Linked DNA regions of Homo sapiens: all the other regions are linked to region 1. Evidence: promoter capture Hi-C in 16 types of primary human blood cells and fetal thymus (Javierre and others, 2016). All regions are on one chromosome and are shown on one strand. Each heading gives the region's core, a stretch centred on a gene start or on the middle of the fragment in contact. The rest is flanking DNA. Distances are from core to core; before and after follow the strand shown.

Evidence for each region. The method cuts DNA at HindIII sites, captures the fragments that hold promoters and counts their contacts. A CHiCAGO score of 5 or more calls a contact.
Region 2: a contact is called between a fragment that was not itself captured here and the fragment with the promoter of PHLDA2 in region 1, in 7 of 17 cell types (total CD4 T cells, naive B cells, naive CD4 T cells and 4 more). The highest score is 7.1, in total CD4 T cells.
Region 3: a contact is called between a fragment that was not itself captured here and the fragment with the promoter of PHLDA2 in region 1, in 16 of 17 cell types (naive CD8 T cells, naive CD4 T cells, fetal thymus and 13 more). The highest score is 14.2, in naive CD8 T cells.
Region 4: a contact is called between the fragment with the promoter of KCNQ1 here and the fragment with the promoter of PHLDA2 in region 1, in 6 of 17 cell types (neutrophils, non-activated CD4 T cells, naive CD4 T cells and 3 more). The highest score is 7.6, in neutrophils.
Region 5: a contact is called between a fragment that was not itself captured here and the fragment with the promoter of PHLDA2 in region 1, in 9 of 17 cell types (monocytes, total CD8 T cells, naive CD8 T cells and 6 more). The highest score is 10.0, in monocytes.
Region 6: a fragment that was not itself captured here is called in contact with the fragment with the promoter of PHLDA2 in region 1 in 8 of 17 cell types (fetal thymus, total CD8 T cells, naive CD8 T cells and 5 more); the score reaches 7.9 in fetal thymus.

The regions. Positions count from the first base shown.
Region 1 is chr11:2,928,170-2,931,523 of GRCh38, reverse strand. PHLDA2 (pleckstrin homology like domain family A member 2) reads left to right here and starts at 2,104. Exons shown (of 2, transcript NM_003311.4): 1 at 2,104-2,628; 2 at 2,857-3,251. The coding sequence starts at 2,160. The coding sequence ends at 2,618. RefSeq lists enhancers at 1,000-1,608, 1,609-2,218, 2,219-2,827. The HindIII fragment of the contact is 14,179 bases long and covers 1-3,354 here.
Region 2 is chr11:2,484,944-2,488,274 of GRCh38, reverse strand. The region is part of intron 1 of KCNQ1 (potassium voltage-gated channel subfamily Q member 1); the gene reads right to left. Among named protein-coding and RNA genes, the nearest start is that of KCNQ1, 42 kb to the right of the region's middle. The HindIII fragment of the contact is 277 bases long and covers 1,310-1,586 here.
Region 3 is chr11:2,547,772-2,550,646 of GRCh38, reverse strand. All of the region lies in intron 2 of KCNQ1 (potassium voltage-gated channel subfamily Q member 1), which reads right to left. Among named protein-coding and RNA genes, the nearest start is that of KCNQ1, 100 kb to the right of the region's middle. The HindIII fragment of the contact is 5,009 bases long and covers 1-2,875 here.
Region 4 is chr11:2,443,443-2,446,351 of GRCh38, reverse strand. It overlaps KCNQ1 (potassium voltage-gated channel subfamily Q member 1), which reads right to left and starts at 1,344. Exons shown (of 16, transcript NM_000218.3): 1 at 868-1,344. The coding sequence starts at 1,253. TRPM5 (transient receptor potential cation channel subfamily M member 5) reads left to right here and starts at 1,838. Exons shown (of 29, transcript NM_014555.4): 1 at 1,838-1,921. RefSeq lists silencers at 1,355-1,424, 1,435-1,544. The HindIII fragment of the contact is 13,739 bases long and covers 1-2,909 here.
Region 5 is chr11:2,521,819-2,524,855 of GRCh38, reverse strand. The region is part of intron 1 of KCNQ1 (potassium voltage-gated channel subfamily Q member 1); the gene reads right to left. Among named protein-coding and RNA genes, the nearest start is that of KCNQ1, 78 kb to the right of the region's middle. The HindIII fragment of the contact is 1,173 bases long and covers 1,075-2,247 here.
Region 6 is chr11:2,505,593-2,508,451 of GRCh38, reverse strand. All of the region lies in intron 1 of KCNQ1 (potassium voltage-gated channel subfamily Q member 1), which reads right to left. Among named protein-coding and RNA genes, the nearest start is that of KCNQ1, 62 kb to the right of the region's middle. The HindIII fragment of the contact is 3,057 bases long and covers 81-2,859 here.

The DNA of each region.
Region 1 (3,354 bases), core at 855-3,354:
CTTCGAGGGCACGCCCTCCCCACAGAGTCCTCCAAGCTGTCCTCCTGGCCTCCAGTACCCCCGACCCCTATCCCCATCCTCATGTACCTGCTGTGCCCCTGGGGTTTAGAGGGATTCCTCTCCCCTCCTCTGGGGTCCCAGCACCAGCCAGGCCTGCAGGCACACAGTAGGTGCTTAAGCAACCACGAGTGTCGGGGGATTTGCCTGGAGCCGAAGTTCCACTGGCTGGCCCCTCAATGGGGTAGGCAGGCTGGTGGGCCTGGAGGTGTTCCAGGCACCTGTGGGCTGGCGCAGTGACAGAGCGCTCTGCCCCCGGCCGCTTCTCCTGGTCTCCCACTGCCCAGAGGTGCCTCTTGCCCAGGTCCCACTGTCCGGCAGCCCAGGGCCCTCTGGAAGCAAAAGAAGGGACACCAGAGTCCGAATCCTTCCTGCAGCCTCTCCGGAACAATGCTCGAATCCCCTCTCCCCGCCAAAGGCTGACCTCCCCTCACCCACCCACCCTACCTGCTGCTCCCTCACCACAGGATCCCAGCCCTGCTGCAAGGACAGGTGTCAGGTAGGGGGCAGTGTTGACCCGCCGGCCCCAGGCAGGTGTCTCACTCCCAGGCCAGAACCCTGGCACAGCCCAACCCTGCCCTCTGCCGGCACTGCCCCTCCACACCACATCCCTGCCCACTGCCAGGTCCTCTGGCCACACCGGTGGGACCACCGGGCAGCTGCTACCTGCATGCCATTCACAGAACCGGGTCTGGGGCGCTCCTCTGAGCCGGACGTCTCTTTATCCTTTACAGTGACCCTGAAGGGCAGGTGGAGGTAGGGCTGGTCCCAGGTCTGGGTTTTACGCTCTGCTGCCACTGTCTTGACATTTTAAATACATTTTGAATCAGGGGACTCTCGTTTTCATTTTGCGTGAGCCCCGTCATTGAGGCCAATTCTGACCCCAGAGTTGGGACTTCCTGCTGTAACCACCCCAGGGCGCAGCTAGGGGGCAGGGGTGCGGGAAGGTGGGAGACGTGGAGTAGTAGCCGGGGTCTCTGGGGTCCTCTCGGCCGGCTCCACCCCCACCCCTGGGAACCCGGGAAGAGCCGGCTTTCGCTTCCTGTCTATTAAACCCTTTAAAGGAAGAGGGTAAATAAAACCGCCCGTCTGCCCAGCTGGAAAGCGATGACTCAGCCGCCCCCGCCGACCCTCGCCCCCAGGCTGATCCCAGAGAGCGGGCGTCGCGGCCCAGCCCGAACCCCTCAGCTCCTGGGACCTCTCTCCGGTCCGGGTCGTGGGGGCGCGGTCGGAGCAGTCCGTACCCCAGTTCGGGACACTACGAGGGCGCAGGGAGGAGAACGGGCTTCCTCTTCCCCTTCCATTTTCTGAGCTCTATGGGTTGCTGGTCTAGCCCTTTCCACGTGTTCCCTAATCCAGCAAAGGTTACTGTTCCCATTTCACAGAAGCGAAAACCGAGGCTAAGAGAGGTGGTCGTTCTTGGCGCAGCCCGTGGGTGGCAAGATAGGAGCTCGGTCCGCTAGGGCAGGGCCACTTTCGGAGAGGGTCTCTGGGCGGCCCTGGGAAAGGCCCCCGAACAGGACGGAACGGCCAGGGCTCGGGAGTAAGGAAGGGGGCCTCGACCCTCCTTCTGCCCCGGGAGCCCGAGAGCGGCAGGGCTGGACTTGGGGCGCCTGGAGGGTGAAGGTCTGGTCCCGGCTGTCTCCCCACGGTGGGCCGGCCCCGGGCCCGCGGGTGCTTCCCGGGGCTCCCCGGCGTGAGTCATCGCGGGCAGGGCTGGCTGCAGCGCATTCTTCCGCGGGGCCGGCCTGCGAGACGGTGCGGGCGAGCGCCCGGGCGGGGCGGGACCTCGAGTCACCCCACGGGGCCGGACAGCTGGGGCACGGGGGGCAAGAGGAGCGCGGGCTTCTGAGATGGGAGGGGACGGCCGGGGACCGACCAGAGCGCGGACGCGACGGTGCGGGCCCGGACGGCTGGGCTTGGGGAGGGTATGGCCCGGGGCGCGCGGGGCTCAGGCGGGCGGGGTGGCCCGAGGGCCGGGGCGGGGCGGGGAGGGGCGGGGCGGGGAGGGGCAGCTATAAAGGCCGCGCCGGGGCCACGAGGAGCAGAGCCGGCGCCGTCACCGCCCGCATTGCCGCTCCCAGTCCCGCGCTCGGCACGACATGAAATCCCCCGACGAGGTGCTACGCGAGGGCGAGTTGGAGAAGCGCAGCGACAGCCTCTTCCAGCTATGGAAGAAGAAGCGCGGGGTGCTCACCTCCGACCGCCTGAGCCTGTTCCCCGCCAGCCCCCGCGCGCGCCCCAAGGAGCTGCGCTTCCACTCCATCCTCAAGGTGGACTGCGTGGAGCGCACGGGCAAGTACGTGTACTTCACCATCGTCACCACCGACCACAAGGAGATCGACTTCCGCTGCGCGGGCGAGAGCTGCTGGAACGCGGCCATCGCGCTGGCGCTCATCGATTTCCAGAACCGCCGCGCCCTGCAGGACTTTCGCAGCCGCCAGGAACGCACCGCACCCGCCGCACCCGCCGAGGACGCCGTGGCTGCCGCGGCCGCCGCACCCTCCGAGCCCTCGGAGCCCTCCAGGCCATCCCCGCAGCCCAAACCCCGCACGCCATGAGCCCGCCGCGGTGAGTGACTGCCCGCGTCCCGGCGAGCCCTGCGCCCTAACAGCCGGGACCGGGGCCTTTGGGAAAAACCACTTCAACCCCAGACGGCGGGGCGGGGGCGCTGCACCTCCTTGGGGGACCCGGCGCCCCGCAATCGCGCTGGCCCCCTCGCGTCAGGGTCTCGGGGCCCCTCAGGCTGGACCCGGACCGGCCCTGGCACAGCTCTCTGACCCAGTCCTTTCCCCACAGGGCCATACGCTGGACGAGTCGGACCGAGGCTAGGACGTGGCCGGCGCTCTCCAGCCCTGCAGCAGAAGAACTTCCCGTGCGCGCGGATCCTCGCTCCGTTGCACGGGCGCCTTAAGTTATTGGACTATCTAATATCTATGTATTTATTTCGCTGGTTCTTTGTAGTCACATATTTTATAGTCTTAATATCTTGTTTTTGCATCACTGTGCCCATTGCAAATAAATCACTTGGCCAGTTTGCTTTTCTACCATCCGGCTGTGGCTCAGTGAGACTCCTGCTGGGAGGGTGGAGGCCCAGGAATGGGCGGGCAGGACACCCTCATCCAGTCCTGCGGGGCTGGTGTGAAAGGCGCTGGGAACCGGCTTTGAATGAATAAATGAATCGTGTCATCTGCTGGGCCTGGTCCACACCCTCTTTTCCAAGCAGCCTCCCCAGAGGCCAGGAAGTGCCCTGGGGCTTGACCCTGGCTACCTTCTGCTCCTTGGTGTGTCCTGAGG
Region 2 (3,331 bases), core at 199-2,698, 440 kb after region 1:
ACAAAATAGCAAACTGAGTTCAGAAACATAGTTAAAGTATTACATATCATGACCATGTGAGATTTAGTCCTGGAATGCAAGGATGGTTCAACATACAAAAATAAATCCATGTAAAAGAGCATATTAACAGAATGAAGAAATAACACTCACATGATCACATGATCTCAATTGATACAAAAAGCATTTGACAAAATTCAACATCCTTATTAAAAACTCTCAACAAACTAGGAATAGAAGGAAACTACCTTAACATAATAAAAACCATATGTGAAAATCCACAGCTAACATCATAATGATGAGACTGAAATTTTTCCCTCTAAGGTCAGGAATAAGGCCAGGGTGACCACTTTCACCACTTCTATTCAACATTGTACTGAAAATTCTAGCCAGAGCAATTTGGCAAGAAAAAAATTAAAAGAAATAAAAGGCATCCAGAATGGAAAAAAAAGACGTAAAACTATTTCTATTCACAGATAACATAATCTCATATGTAGAAACCCCTAAAGATTCCACAAAAACTTATTAGAGCTAATAAATGAAGTCAGCAAAGTTACAGAATCTAAGGTAAACATGCAAAATCAGTTGCATTTCTATATGCTAACAATGAACAATCTAAAAATGAAATTAAGAAAACAATTTAATTTATAATAGCATCAAGTAGAATACTTAGGAATTAACTTAACCAAGGAGGTAAAAGACTTCTGCAGCAAAACCCACAAAACATTACTGAAAGAAACTTAAAAAGATGCAAATAAATGGAAACATATCCCATGTTCATGGATTAGAAGACAATGTTGAGATATCAATACTACCCAAAGTGATTTATAGATTCAGTGCAATCCCTCTCAAAATCCCAATGACACTTTTTGCAAAAATAGAAAAACCCATCCTAAAATTCATATGGAATCTCAAGGAACTTAAAATAGCCAAAAGCAATATTGAAAAAGAAAAGCCAAGCTGGAAGCCTAACACTTTCTGATTTCAAAACTTTACTATAAACTTACAGTAATCAAGACAGTGTGACACAGGCAAAAAGACAGACATATAAACCAATGGAACATGAGACAGCCCAGAAATAAACCGTGGCATAAATGGTTAAATGATTTTTGACTAGGGTTCCAAGACTATTCAATGAGAAAAGGACTGTCTTTTCAACAAATGGTGCTGGGAAAACTGGAAATCCACATGCAAGAGGGAAGCTGGACCCTTACTTCACACCATATACAAAAATTAACTCAAAATGGATCAAATATCTAAATGTGCAACGTAAAACTATAAAAATCTTAGAAGAAAACATAGGGCAAAAGCTTCATGACATTGGATTTGGCTATGATTTCTTGGATATAACATTGATAGAGTTCAGATATTTGTCCCCTCCAACTCTCATGTTGAAATGTGATCCCCAGCGTTGGAGGTGGGGCCTGGTGGGTGCTGTTTGGGTCATAGGGGCAGATTCCCCATGATTAGGTAATGAGTTCATGCAAGATCTGGTTGTTAAAAGGAGACTGGAACCTCCTTTCTCTTGCTCCCTGTCTCATCATATGAGACACCTACTCCCGCTTCACCTTCTGCCGTGATTGGAAGCTTCCTGAGGCTCTCGCCAGAAGCAGGTGCTGGCACCATGTTTCTTGTACAGCCTGCAGAACCATAAGCCAATTAAACCTCTTTTCTTTATAAATTACCAGCCTCAGGTATTCCTTTATAGCAATGCTAAATGGACTAACACAAAGACCAAAGGCACAGGCAACAAAACAAAAAGTAGACAACTTGGACTTCGTGAACATTAAAAATTTTTGTACAAAGACACTATCAACGGAGTAAAAAGGCACCCCACAGAATGAGAGAAAATATTTGCAAATCCTATATCTGATAAGGGATTAATATCCAGAATATATAGAGAAGTTCTAAAACTCAACAGCAAAAACAAACCTCTCAATTTAATGAAGTGGGCAAAAGAGCTGAGGAGATATTCTCCAAAGAAGATATACAAATGGCTAATAAGAGCATGAAAAGATACTCAACATCACTACTCATAAGAAAATGTAAATCAAAACTATAATGAGATACCACTGCACACCCACTAGAATGGCTACTATTAAAAAACCCCAGAAATTACAAGTGTTGGTGAGGATGTGGTAGCTACTGTGGAAAACGGCATAGTGGTTCCTCAAGAAATTAAAACTATAATTACCATATAATCCAGAAATTCCACTTCTGGGTATATACCCAAAAGAATTGAAAGCAGGGCGTTGAAAAGATATTTGTACACCCATATTCATAGTAGCATTATTCACAATAGCTAAAACATGGAGGCAACCCAAATGTTCATCAAAAGATGAATGGATAAGCAAAATGTGGTCTATCCATACAGTGGAATATTATTCAGCCTTGAAAAGGAAAAGGAAATTCTGACACATGCTACAGCATGAGTGAACTTTCAGGACATTATGCCCAAGTGAAATAAGCCAGTCACAAAAGACAAATAGAGTACTCAATGATCCCACTTTTATGAAGTTCCTGGATTAGTCAAATCCATAGGGACGAAAGGTAAATGGTAGGTGCCAGGGGCTGGGGAAGAGAGAATGGGGGAGTTGGTGTTTAATGGGGATGGAGTTTCAGTTTGGGAGGATGAGAAAATTCTAGAAATGGATGGTGGTGATGGTTGCATAACAAAATCAATGTACTTCATGCCACTGAACTGTGTGCTTAAAAATAGTTAAAATGGTAAATTTTGCATTAGTGTATCTTACCGCAATTAAAGATCTACAAGAGTATTGATAGTGTGCTTCCCTTTTTGTAAGAAAGAGGGGATACAGGAAAACACACGTGTATTTTCTCATCTGTGCGAGAGGCCTGCAAGAGAGACATGAAAGGCTGAAGAGCTGGTTTTGTCCAGGGTGGGGGGGTGGGGGATGGAGTGGGGAGGGAAGGGCTGGCAGGGTGGGCGCCTGGCTCTCCTCTGAGGACACTCTTTGTGCACCTCTGACTCCAGGAGTCACAGCAGCTTTACATTCCCTTCACACAGACCCCCAGATAAGTAACTAAAAACAATCAGAATCGGGGGACACCCAAAATGGAATACCAACCTAACAGATAAATCTAAACATGTCACAGATGAATGACATAATCACACTGAAGGGAGTACAGAAGTAAAGAAATACTCAAAGTCACCGTGGGGAAAAGCACTGATGGGACGCAGTGAGGCTGAAGACAAGACGCGCCGTGCACAGACGCCATGCACAGGCGCCAGGCTCTGGGTGGTCAGTCACTTCTCATGGGGGCACGCATCAGCAAGTATGGAGCCAGTTCCCTTGCAGCTGGGGTTGGACGA
Region 3 (2,875 bases), core at 122-2,621, 380 kb after region 1:
CAGCACCCTTCATTCACCTGCTCAGGGAGGCGCCCCCTCTTCCGGTCACTCAGCTCACGTGTTGGCATTTGTTCCCCTACCCTGCCTGGCACTCTGGCCTAGGCGAGGATGCATGTCAGGCATCAGCTCCCAGGGCGGGCAGTGCCCTTGGCTGCTTTCCAGCTCCGGGGCCCGCGCATGGAGCTGCCTAGGGAGGAACATGGGTGTCTGGGCCACTGCGACGCTCCCAGAACGTGGGCTTCTCCCACCTTCTACCTATGCCTTTTCATTCAACCCCCAGAGGGACCCTAGCAGGGGGTGTGAGGGGTGACGGCAAGGATGCAGATGCTGCAGTGTGTCGGAAATCCAGGCGCCGCGCCACGGCTCTGCAACTGCAAAGACCCTCTCACCCCGTGATCAGAAAAGTTCAAACTCCAGGCACACGGCCCAGTCCCGGCAACGGCAAAGAGAGGCGGGGGAGGGACGTGCACTGCCTGCGGGATGTCCATCCAGGCCGGGGCTCGGCAGCTCTGGTTCTCTACAGACAACTCTGAGCATCTCTCATCTGAGCTCCGCAAAGACATACAGATACATCCACACCCAGACCTGCACATTGGGGTCCAGTTCTGGGGTCCGTCCCTCTCGAGGCCCAAACAGTCCCCTGCACCCTGGCCTCCCCGTCTCTGGGTCTACTGGAGGTGGAGCTGGCTCCCTTCCTGCTCCTCTACGCGGCTCGCGCTGGGTGGCGGGGGCGGTGGGCAAGGAGCCGGAACCCCCAGATTGAGTGGTGCAGAAGGAAAAGCCAGGGAGGGGTGTCCTGCCCAGGGGTCTCTCCGCCACCCAGGGCCAGTCATGGGGAAGGAGGCGCATAGGGGCCTGGGGTACTCATGACTGGGGGCCACGTGCTGCTGCTCACGTCCACTGCCCCCCAGGCACCCCCACACCAGGCCTGGGGAGCCCAGGGCCACCCATGCAGAACACAAAACGCCTCTTGTTCCCACCCCAGGTGCTTGGGAGGAGGAGGCCCCCCCACGCCCCTACCCCGGGCCTCGCAGAGCAGTCACTGGAAGTGTCCCAGCTGTGCTATGAGCAGGTCACGAGGCTCCACAACAGGACCTGCCCACGCCGGGACACCCGGTGACACTCCACTCCCTCTGCTTTTGCAGCCCCCGGGGGACCCTCCTCGAGGGCCCCATGTCTTCTGGGTTCCATCGCTTTGAGGTAGAAAATCTGAGGCCTCAAACTGCCCCCAAAGCAGGCAAAGGTCAGATGTGTGGAGAGAGGATGGCGAGGATGGCAAGGACGGCCAAGGAGGGTCGCCCCAGGTGCCTGGACCCAGGTTTGTCCCGCACCCCGCACCCTGGCCCACATGTCTTCCTTCCCCATAGCCCCACCCCAGCATCCTGGCACCAGTGGGCTCCTGGTGGCACTGGCTGGATGCTGTAGCCTGCTGATGGCCACTAGCACGTGCTGGGGACCTAAAGCCACATGGTTGAGACATCATCATTTGCTCCACAACCCCCTAGCCTGGCTTCTCAGATCTCAGCCTGCCCCCTCTCCACCCAGCCACTCTCCCTTGGGTGGAAGCTGGATGTACTCTAGAACCCACCCTGGAGACAGCCCCTGGGATGAAGAAACCAGGTCGTGTCCGGGCCCCAGCACCTGTCACCAAACATCCTCCAAAGTGAGGATTTTTCAGTCACAGGGGCTCAGGAGGGCTGGGGCAGTGGTAGTCGGGGGACAGTAGGGCCCCTTTATTCCCGCCAGACAGGTCCTCACTTTACCCCAAAGTCGACAATGGCGAACTTCTCCTCAGACACCCACCCACCTGGGCCAAGTCAGGCTGTGTGTCTGTGTGTGTACGTGCGTGGGCATTTGTGCACAGCCTAAGCACCCCCAGGCCACCGCCAGAGCCCAACACCGTGTGTGCACACGCATAAACACACAAACCTGGTGCTATCTGAGATGCAAGAAGAAGATGTCACCTTGAAGTGGGTCACTGTATCCAACAGCCCCACACGCACCTATGAAACCGCCTTAAGAAACTTTTCACTAAGGGCTTGGCGGGCTCCTGAGATGTCTTAGCAGAATGTAGCGGTTTGCAGACACGTAAACGTGTCCCCCCACCCCCAGAGCTTAGGACACTCCACCTACACCTACAAGGCTGAGAAAGGGAATATAAACTGCTATGGAAAAATTATAGTTATACCGGAATTTTTCTTTGTTCGCTATGAAATCTTTCAAATAAGTCAGAATACAGCAACTAACCTGACCGATTATACGCATGGATATTCCCATCCCATGTTCTGCTGTATTTTCTTCTGCCACGCTTGATTCAGACTTTGAGAAACAAAATCCAAGGGAAGCAGCAAAAGACGTTCCCAGTCTACCTCCCTGGACGAAGCCACCATCTTTCCACCTACGTTTCTGTGCTCACACGACTCGTGCAATCAGGACAAACACGCATGACCCTGGGACCTCGGGTCTGAGCTGCCACTGCTTAGAGACCTGCCTGCCGCCACCTTATCCTGGGCCTGGCCTCTACCAGTCAGAGGGGCGGCGTTAAGTCTGAGTCACACCATGCCAGGCCCCAGGCTCCTGTCATGCAGAGCGAAACCCTAACTCCCCAGAGTCGCCCCAAGCCCTCACACGCCAGGTCCTGCCACCTCCCTGACCTCATCCCCCACCGCTCCCTGCTCCCCTGTCTCTGAATGCTACAGGCTCCTCACAGCTCCCTCCACCCGCGCCAGGCACACGCCCCATCCGGGTCTTGGCACGTGCCATGCTCTCTGCCAGGAATGCTTGACCCTGAAACCCCAACATCTGGACCTTCACCTCCATACAGAGACTCGCAGCCCGGCCGCTCCACTGAGAACTGCCGCCCCTCCCCTTCCAT
Region 4 (2,909 bases), core at 95-2,594, 480 kb after region 1:
CCAAAAGGCCGCTGGCTGGGCAGCCAGGAAGTAGGGCCACTGGGGCAGCGGGGGAAGGCCCCAGGCAGGCATGGAGGAGAGCAGCCTGGACCTTCCCGGAGGTGACTTCCCAGGCCTGTCCCTGAGAAATCCAGTGCCCAGCCCTGCTCAGGCACGCTGTACCGGGAATTGGAACCACCTGGTAACAGGGGGGCCAGGTGCCTCTGCTACCAGCGCTGCTTTCTCCGGGAGCACAGCTGCCTCTTAGTGAGAGCTGCAAACGTGCCTCTCCGCTCTCTGCATCAAGCCAGGTTTTCATGAGCTTGGTTCAATTAGTTAATGTGGGGCCCGTGGGGACGGCCCGTGGCATGCTGAGCCCTCAGGGAGCACCGCCACCGTCACCTTCCTATCCTGGACAGCCCCCTGCCCCAGAGTCCACCTGGGCCTCAGGGGGTCTGAGATGCGGCACCGGACATCAGGGGCCTTCTCTCTTGGGGGCTCCTGAGCCTCGAGTCTCAGCCGACCTTGAGGAGTTATCTTACTGCACCCAAGGGTGCGCTCCCCAGCACGCTTCTCTTCCCAGAAGGATTCACACCTGGACTACCCTCCCGGAGGTGTGGAGCCAAATTCTGGGCTCCAGGTGGTCCCCTCCCCAGCCGGCTCCCTCCCCACGCCGGGCCTGCGAGAAGATGCGCACCCCCAGACACAGCAGCGCCTCTGAACTTCAAGGGAGAGTGCAGAGTTTGTGTTTCTGCGTTTCCCCACTTCCTTCCCTCCTCTGCTCCGGGGTCGCAGCTCCGACGGGGCAGGTGGCGCTGGGACAGAGCTCCCCCACACCAGCTCTCAGGAAGCACCTTCGTGCCGGCCGTCGCCGGTGGCGATACTCACACGGCGAAGTGGTAAACGAAGCATTTCCAGCCGGTGGGACGCTCGAGGAAGTTGTAGACGCGGCCCTGGACGTGGGTGCGCGCCAACACCGGGCGGCGCGTGCTGTAGATGGAGACGCGCGGGTCTAGGCTCACCGGCGGCCGCGGGCCAAGGTCGGAGGCAACTGGGGGCGCGGCGGGCGCGGCCGGGGACGCAGGGGGCGCGGGACCTGGGGCGCCGGGCGCGATGGGCGCGTAGAGCGCGCCGCCCGCCGGGCCGCCCTCCGCCAGCTCCAGCGAGAAGGGGCACTTCTTGGCCAGGCCCGCGCTGCCCCGCCGGGCGCCTGGCAGGCGGCCCCAACCCCAGCGCTTCCTCTCGGCCCTGGGCGGGGAGGAGGCCGCGGCCATAACGAGGAGGGCCTGCCGGGGGGCCGGCCCGAGCGGCGGCACCGGGAGCTGCAGCGAAGGCGAGCGCCCGGGCGCAGTGCGGGCAGCCACTGCTGCCAGCCCCGCCGCGGGGGGCCGCTGCCGGCCCAGCCCGGGCGCTCGGGGCGGGGCCGGAGGGGGCAGTGGCCGAGGGCCGGTCCCATGGGACGGCGTGCCCCGCCCCCGCCTGCACGCCCCGCCCCCGCCGGTCCGGCGCGCACAGGGCGTCCCTGCCCGCGCCCACCGGCTTGGCCCGCCCTCTCCCCACGGACCGGCCTGGCCCTGCCTCCGCCTCACCCCCTGGCTTGGCCTGTCCGCGCCCCCGCCCCCGCCTGCGCCCCCGCCCCCACCCCCACCCCCGCCCGAGCCCACCTGCTTAGCCCCGCTCGTGTCATCTATCCCGCTTGGCCCCGCCCCCTCCTCGCCCACCTGTTTGGCCCCGTTCCAGTGTGCATTTACCCCGCCTGGCCCCGCCCCCTCCCCGCCCACCTGCTTGGCCCCGCCCTCACCCACCTGCTTGGCCCCGCCCCGTCTGCATCTCCCCTGCTTGCTCCTGCCCTGCCCTCACCCACCTGCTTGGCCCCCACTTCTGATGCCCGCCTGCTCTGCCTGGCCCGGAGGAGGACCCCAGCTGCGCCAGGGAGGAAGGGGTAAGGCCTGGCCGATACCACGACCGAGAACGGCACAGCGGGGGCAGGAGGGGCGGGGTAGGGTGCCGGCATCTACTTTCCCTCCCTCTGAGCCACTCCGGAGTTGGGGTTGGGGGGAGGAAAGGGATGTCCTGGGTGAGGGTGTGCTGGCCCCGCGATCACTGTGAGCGCCCCCGGGTGCCCAGGCGCGCGAGCTGCGGGCGGCGAATACGCTCGGGTCGCTTCCCACCAGGGCCCTTGGACCGGGAGGGTGAGATGGGACCACCACTGTCAGGTACCTCCCAGTGGGAGCTGTGTGGGTGGGGAGCCGGCAGGGCTGCTGGGGGGTGGGGGCGGCACAGCCGGGGTCTGGACCTGGTTTGACTGCCGGGCATAGCAGGCGGGGCTGCCTGGGCAGTTAAAGGGAGAGGCGCTTGCGCCACCCTAGTAACTTGGAGAATGGGCGCCTTGTCCTCCCCACCGTCGAGACCGCGCTGCCGCTGCGCCCCGTGGATTCCCCTGGGTGGGGGTGGGTTGGTCACATCGGAAGATTTTCACAGGTCTCTGCACTGCCTCCCGCCCGCTACTGGCATTTGGGTCTCAGCACGTCTCAGGCTTGGGGGGGGGGTGGGGGGCAGCCAACAGAAGAGACCGGCTTTTTTCAGGATACTGCACACAGCCCTGAGGCAGGGACTAAAGGTGGAGCTCAGCGGTGACTCTCCGCCCCGCCAGGAGACCCATAACTCATGTGACACTTCCAGGTCGTCCCTGAGCACCCTGGGTCAATTTGATGTATCTACCACCCCCTGCCAAAAGTCTGCTCTTTTATCGTGGACGGAGTCCAGCCCAGGCCCTTGACGCCTGACTCCCCACCCTAGTGAGGTGCCACACAGGAGTGCACAGTCTGTATTTGCAGCAAGAGTGGATGGAGTGGGTCCCAGCTTGTGCTGGGCGCTGTGATAACACAAGGGAGGCCGAGGAGAGGGTACCTTCCTGGGAAGCATATCAG
Region 5 (3,037 bases), core at 412-2,911, 410 kb after region 1:
CACATGGAGATGCAGTGCCCACTGGTGACCCAGGCAGCTCCCCTGCCTCAGTTTCCTTATCAACACAAAGAAGTGGCCCACAGGTGCTTCTTCCCAGGCTGTGGAGGGAAGTGTCACCTGACGTCCAGCAGGGAATCAGCAGCGAGCGTCGACTTCACCCTGAGGCCTTGGATAAGCCGGAAGCTGCCAGTGCTGTCTACTGCAAAGATGTGGCAAAACCCACCACCCACCAGGGGCCCTGGGAAGGATCCACTAAGTTGCTGTCTGTTCAGCAACAGGAAGTGCTCCTGGGGACTGCAGGCCACTGCCCGCTACCCACGCCCCTGCTCACTGACCACTGGCCCAGCCAGTGCTTTGCAGACAGTAACACAGACCCCCACGAGACCCTGCCAGACTGTGACATCACTGCCACACTATCATCAAACACATGCTACAAGTAGGGAAACTGAGGCTCCAAGGGCTTCTGAGGTCACAATTGGGGTAAACTGAGGAGGAGACACAGGACTGCAGCCTGGTTCCCTGACCCGGCATGGCTGGGGTCCCTGGAGGCTGGGCCCTGGGCCCCTTTGACCCTCGGTATGAGACGACTTGCCAGGCTCTGGTCTTGGTGCACGTGAGCAGGGATAGGGCTGCGGTGAGGGTGGCACAGCAGCTTTCCCGTCGCCGAGCCTGGCTTCCATCCTCCCGTCTCTTCCTCCAACTCAGATCCTCCTGCTTCTCTTAGAAGAATCCTCACAATCACAGTGAGGGCTCACCCGGGTAACCCAGGACAACCTCCCCTCTCACGAGCCATCCCTCAGTCACCCTGCAAAGCCCCTTTGGCCACACAACCTAACTTGTTCACAGGACAAGGACACAGACACCTCAGGGGCCACCGTTCAGCCAAGCGACAGCCATGTCTGCGAGTCATGCACCCGAATCCACGCCACTGCCCCAGCCTCTCAGTGACCTGCACGGAAGGCGCTGCACTCCCCCCACTCTCAGATGAGCAAATGGAGGCCTGAGGAGGGAAGGGGGCCATGGGCAGGACCCAGGTCTGCTGACCCTGCAGCCTCCAGGCCCAGGTTGAAAGCTTTAAACTTTCAAAAAAAAAAAAAAAAAAAACTGTAAACTTCCTCCAAGGCAGAGGCGAGCGAACAGAATTACCTGCAGCTCCTCTGCCCTTCACAGGGGCACCGTGATGCAATGTGGAAGCTGAGATAACCCCACTTCACAGCTGCCCTTCTAAAAGACCACAGGCGACGCTGCCTTCTGCATCTGCCATCACGGCTTTTCGATTCTCGTGCTGTTTGGGTGACAGCCGTCCATCACAGTGGCAGTTGGTGACCTCGGCCACAGCATAGAAAGCAGTGGTGGGGCCGGGCGCGGCGGCTCACACCTGCAATCCCAGCACTTTGGGAGGCCGAGGCGGGAGGATTGCCTGAGGACAGGAGTTCGAGACCAGTCTGGCCAACATGGTGAAACCCCGTCTCTACTAAAAATATGAAAAAATTAACTGGGCGTGGGTGGTGGTGTGCTCCTGTAATCCCAGCCACTCAGGAGATTGAGGCAGGGGGATTGCTTGAACCAGGGAGGTGGAGGTTGCAGTGAGCCGAGATCGCGCCACTGCACTCCAGCCTGGGTGACAGAGCAAGACTCCACCACAAAAAAAAAAAAATTAAATTAAATTAAAAAAGAAAGCAGTGATGGATGCTGGTTAGCACCATGTGCAGGGTGGGCACTCACAGGCCGCAGGTGAGGGCTTGAAAACTTGGTGACTGGCTGCAAATACCACGCGCCTGGGCTTCATGGCGCGGATTCCAGCTGCAGGGGCCTCTCCTGCCCATGTCCTGTGCTCAGGAGACACAGCTGGCTCAGATATGTGGAGTTACTGCAGCAGGAAGATTCTTGACTGGGCGTTGCGGGAGAATACAGGATGTGGCCAGGGAAGACTGCACATGGGTGGTCCTGGACCAGCCCCCACAGAGTGTGCACCCAAGTGGGCGTCCACCCCAACTACCTGGGCAGAGGTGCCTGGGAAAGTCCCGTGCAGTGGAATCGCGGCTGAGGCAGAAGACAGGGCTCCAGGCCCGGGGGTTGGGAGCCAGCAGGGGCTGAGGAACGTTCCCCCGCAGGCCAGGCAGATGGTGGGGACAGGTGCCCATGGGCCAGGCTGGCTGTCAGCCTTGCCATATTCTGAAGGCTAAATGATTCTTCCGATATTTTGATATACCGTGCTAGCCTCAGAAGGAATTATATGACAAAGCTTACTTTTATCTACTCCAGATAAAAAGAGTTTTATCTTATTTACCGCTTTATCTATTCTTGTCTCGGGCGGAGCTGGGAACCTCACAGGTGCCGAGCTGGGGTCCCTGCCCTTGAGGCACTCAGGGCCTGGGGTGCCTGTGTCCCCTCCTGCCTCTGCAGGGCCACCTACCACCCCCTCTGCCTCAGCTCCAAGGCCAGGCAGTCACAGCCCCCCACTCTGCAGAGCCGGGAAACTAAGGCCCTGGGAGAGGACGAATCCTATGCGTGTTTTGGACTCGGAGTGGGAAGCAGGACAGGCTAGCGAAGGGGTGGGGGAGAGAAGACACCGACCCCCCCCCAGCTCATGTGGTCCCCTGAATGCTGTCCCACCCGAGCTCCCAAGAGGGCGTGGTCATGCGGGGGGCGGGGAGCTGCATGAGCGGGGAGCCCACCGCACCCCAGAAAACAACCTCCTACTTGTTCCCCTTGACAGCAAATAGGCCTCAGGAGCAGTGACGGCGAGTACCAGCCCCGAAGGCACCCGGTGAATTATCCGACATCATTTCAACATCTCAGCCCCGGGTGCCCGGGAACACAGGAGAATGCAGGAACCCTGCCAGGGTCATAGCCCGAGACGCTGTGGGAGGGCTCCCCCGGGGTGCAGGCAGCGGGCCTGGGTGGGCTCCACGGCTCAGATGGCCTGGGGCTAACGCGAGCTGAAGGCTGGAGACTCCATGACCTGCCCTGCCGCACACACTAGGGCCCCTGAGTGGTGCTCCTAAATGGGCCTGGTTGATCCAGGTGACCCGCC
Region 6 (2,859 bases), core at 360-2,859, 420 kb after region 1:
GAGCAGCCAGGCCTCGGGAGCTGTGTCCTGACCTGAGGTGCAGTGTCCAGGGCACTGTCTGGACAGTGCTCCCCAAAGCTTGCCCTGCCAAGCCCAGGTTCCAGGACAATGATGGGCTCCTGGCCTAAAGTCTTTCCAAGACATATCTCCGCCGGGTAACGGCAAGTCAGACAAGCCAGTATGGTCCCCACAGGAGCCCAAAGACCCTTGGTGACCACCATGGGTTGGTGGAGGTTGTGGTACCTCAAACATGCATGCCTAGTGTTTGCAAACCTCACCTTCAGCAGCAGCATCCCTGGGAAACCCCAGCTCCACTGCCGTGGGGCCAAGGCAACACAGACCCCTGCTGGGGCCCAGGCCAGCTCTGTGGGGCCGAGCTGGGTGTTTGTGTCTGAGAGGTTTCAGGGCAGGGTCCCAGCCTCCATGTACGGGGCTGGGACCCACCAGGACCCAGACTCCCACATACGTGTGTGGAATAAAACTCATAACCCCACATCACCAAGTCAAGGCCAGTTCCAAAACCTCTCAGGAGGGCTCAACACAGAGTCCTTTGTTCTTCCTCCATTGCCCCTGTGGAGGCTGCAGGACACCCAACCTCCCGGACTTGCCTTCCTTGCCCTCAGCCTCCACAGCTGCCATCACTTGGCCCTTGCCCTCTGCCCTTCCACCCACCCAGGCTACAGGAGGCCCTGTCTAGCCCCTGCGCTCATGTCATTTACACACTGACACCTCCCCTAACTTGTGAGCCCAGCCCGCACTCTCTCCCCAGAGCTCCCACCTGCAGGTCTTACTGCCTTCAACCCACCTCACCTGGCTGCCTCACAAACACCTCCAAAATAACATGTCCCCAGCTGGACTCCTTCGCCCCAACCCTGACCCATGTCAGAAACAGAAAGTGCATCCTCCCAGGTGCGAGGGGTCCCAGCAGCATCCTTTTCTCTTCCTCCCGCTGCACCCGCCACCTTATCTACCTGCAAACCCTGTTTTCTACAGCAGTGGTCCTGACTTCTCACCCTTCCTTCAAACCCTCTAGAGCAAACCACGCCGTCCCATCCCACAGCCACCTCAGTCACAGCCTCCTGCGCATCTCGTGTCCTGCCCGATGACCCCACACTCCATGCTCCACTTAGAGGCCAGAGGGGCCTCGTGAAGGCCCCAGCCAGTGGGGTGAACTTCTAAGGAAGAGGTCTCAGGCCACTCTCTGAGAAAAGATTACCTTAGATCATGCACAAGAGCAAACTCCAAACGGACAAGGAGCTAAATGCTGAAGACAAGACCCCAAACCTCCAGAAGAAAACACAGTGGATTCCCCTTAACCTCGGTGGAGGAAAAAGCTCTCAACTGTGGCCCTGAATCCGGAGTCAGTAGAAAGAAGCATGATAAATTTGATGATATAAACATGCGAAATTTCTCATAGCAAAAAGCACCATAAGCAAAGTCAAAGACAAGTGACCAGCTGGGAAAACAATTCACATTAGTCCAGACAAACGTTCCCACAATATAAATGACTTAAAAATTGAGAGACCAAGAACCAAAAACCCAATGGAAGAAGTTGGAAATGAGAAGACAGACGATTTACAAATACACACACACATGACTTTTAGACACAGGGAAAACATTCAAATTCAATGTAATTACAGAAATACAGATTAAAACAAAGCTATGGACCTGGCAAAAAGTGGTGTGACAGCACGCTGCTGGCGCAACTGTAGAAAAAACCGGTATGCTCATGCATTGCTGGGGGAGTGCAAATGTGCAACCGTTCTGCAGGGAAATTTGGTCACATCCAACAAAACTACGGGCTTCTCTTTCAGCCCAACACTCCCATTTCTAGGAATCTACCCTGAAGATAACACCTCCAACAATAGGAACATCCATACCTACGAAGTTATTCTTTGCAACATTGTTTCAAGAATACAATAGACATATGTATAAGGCTATACTTTGCAACATTATTTATCATTGCACAATATCAGAACAACCTAAATGCCCATAAATAGGAGAGGGTTTGAATAAGCATGGCACATCCAACCATAAAGTATGGGGTGGCTGTAAAAAAGAATATGGAAGGACCCCACGAACTGATATGTAGTGGTCTCTAGGAAATACTATTACGTGAGAAAAGCAAATTCAAAAAGTTCACGTATAGTCTTTTCGACAAATGATGGTGGGATAACTGAGTATCTACATGCAAAAGAATAAAGCTGGATATAAAAAATTAACTCAATATGGGTCAAAGGTATAAATGTAAGACCTAAAGCAATAGGAACACATAGGAGAAAATAGAAAGACTTTGGATTTGAGGATGATTTCTTGAATACGACATTGAAGGCACAGGCTCCGGTGAACAGTGCCGCAGTAAACGTAGGAGTGCGCATCTGTCCCTGCTGGACTGATTTTCTTTCTTTTTGGATATATAACTAGCAGTGGGATTGCTGGATCACAGGGGCTAAGCACGTGGACAAATTAAATTTTATGAAAATGTAAAGTCTGTATATCAAAAGGTGATATCGGCAGTGGCAGAATAGATAAACATGATCCAGCTACATGCTGTCTACTAGAGACTCGCGTTAGAGCCAAAGACACAAAAAGATTGAAAGTGAAAGGGTGGAAAGAGTGGAGAAAGAGGTTCCATGCAAATGGCAAACACAAAAAGCAGAGTGGCTACACTAACATCAGCCAAAAATGGTTTTATAATAAACCTAGAAAGGTCACAAGAGACAAAAGAGGACGCTGCACACTTAAAGGTTCGAGGCTGCAAGAAGATGTTACAGATAACCATTATAAACATTTATGCCTCTAACAGCTAACGATCAAAAGACACAAAGGAAAAATTTACAGAACCGAAGGGAGAAATAG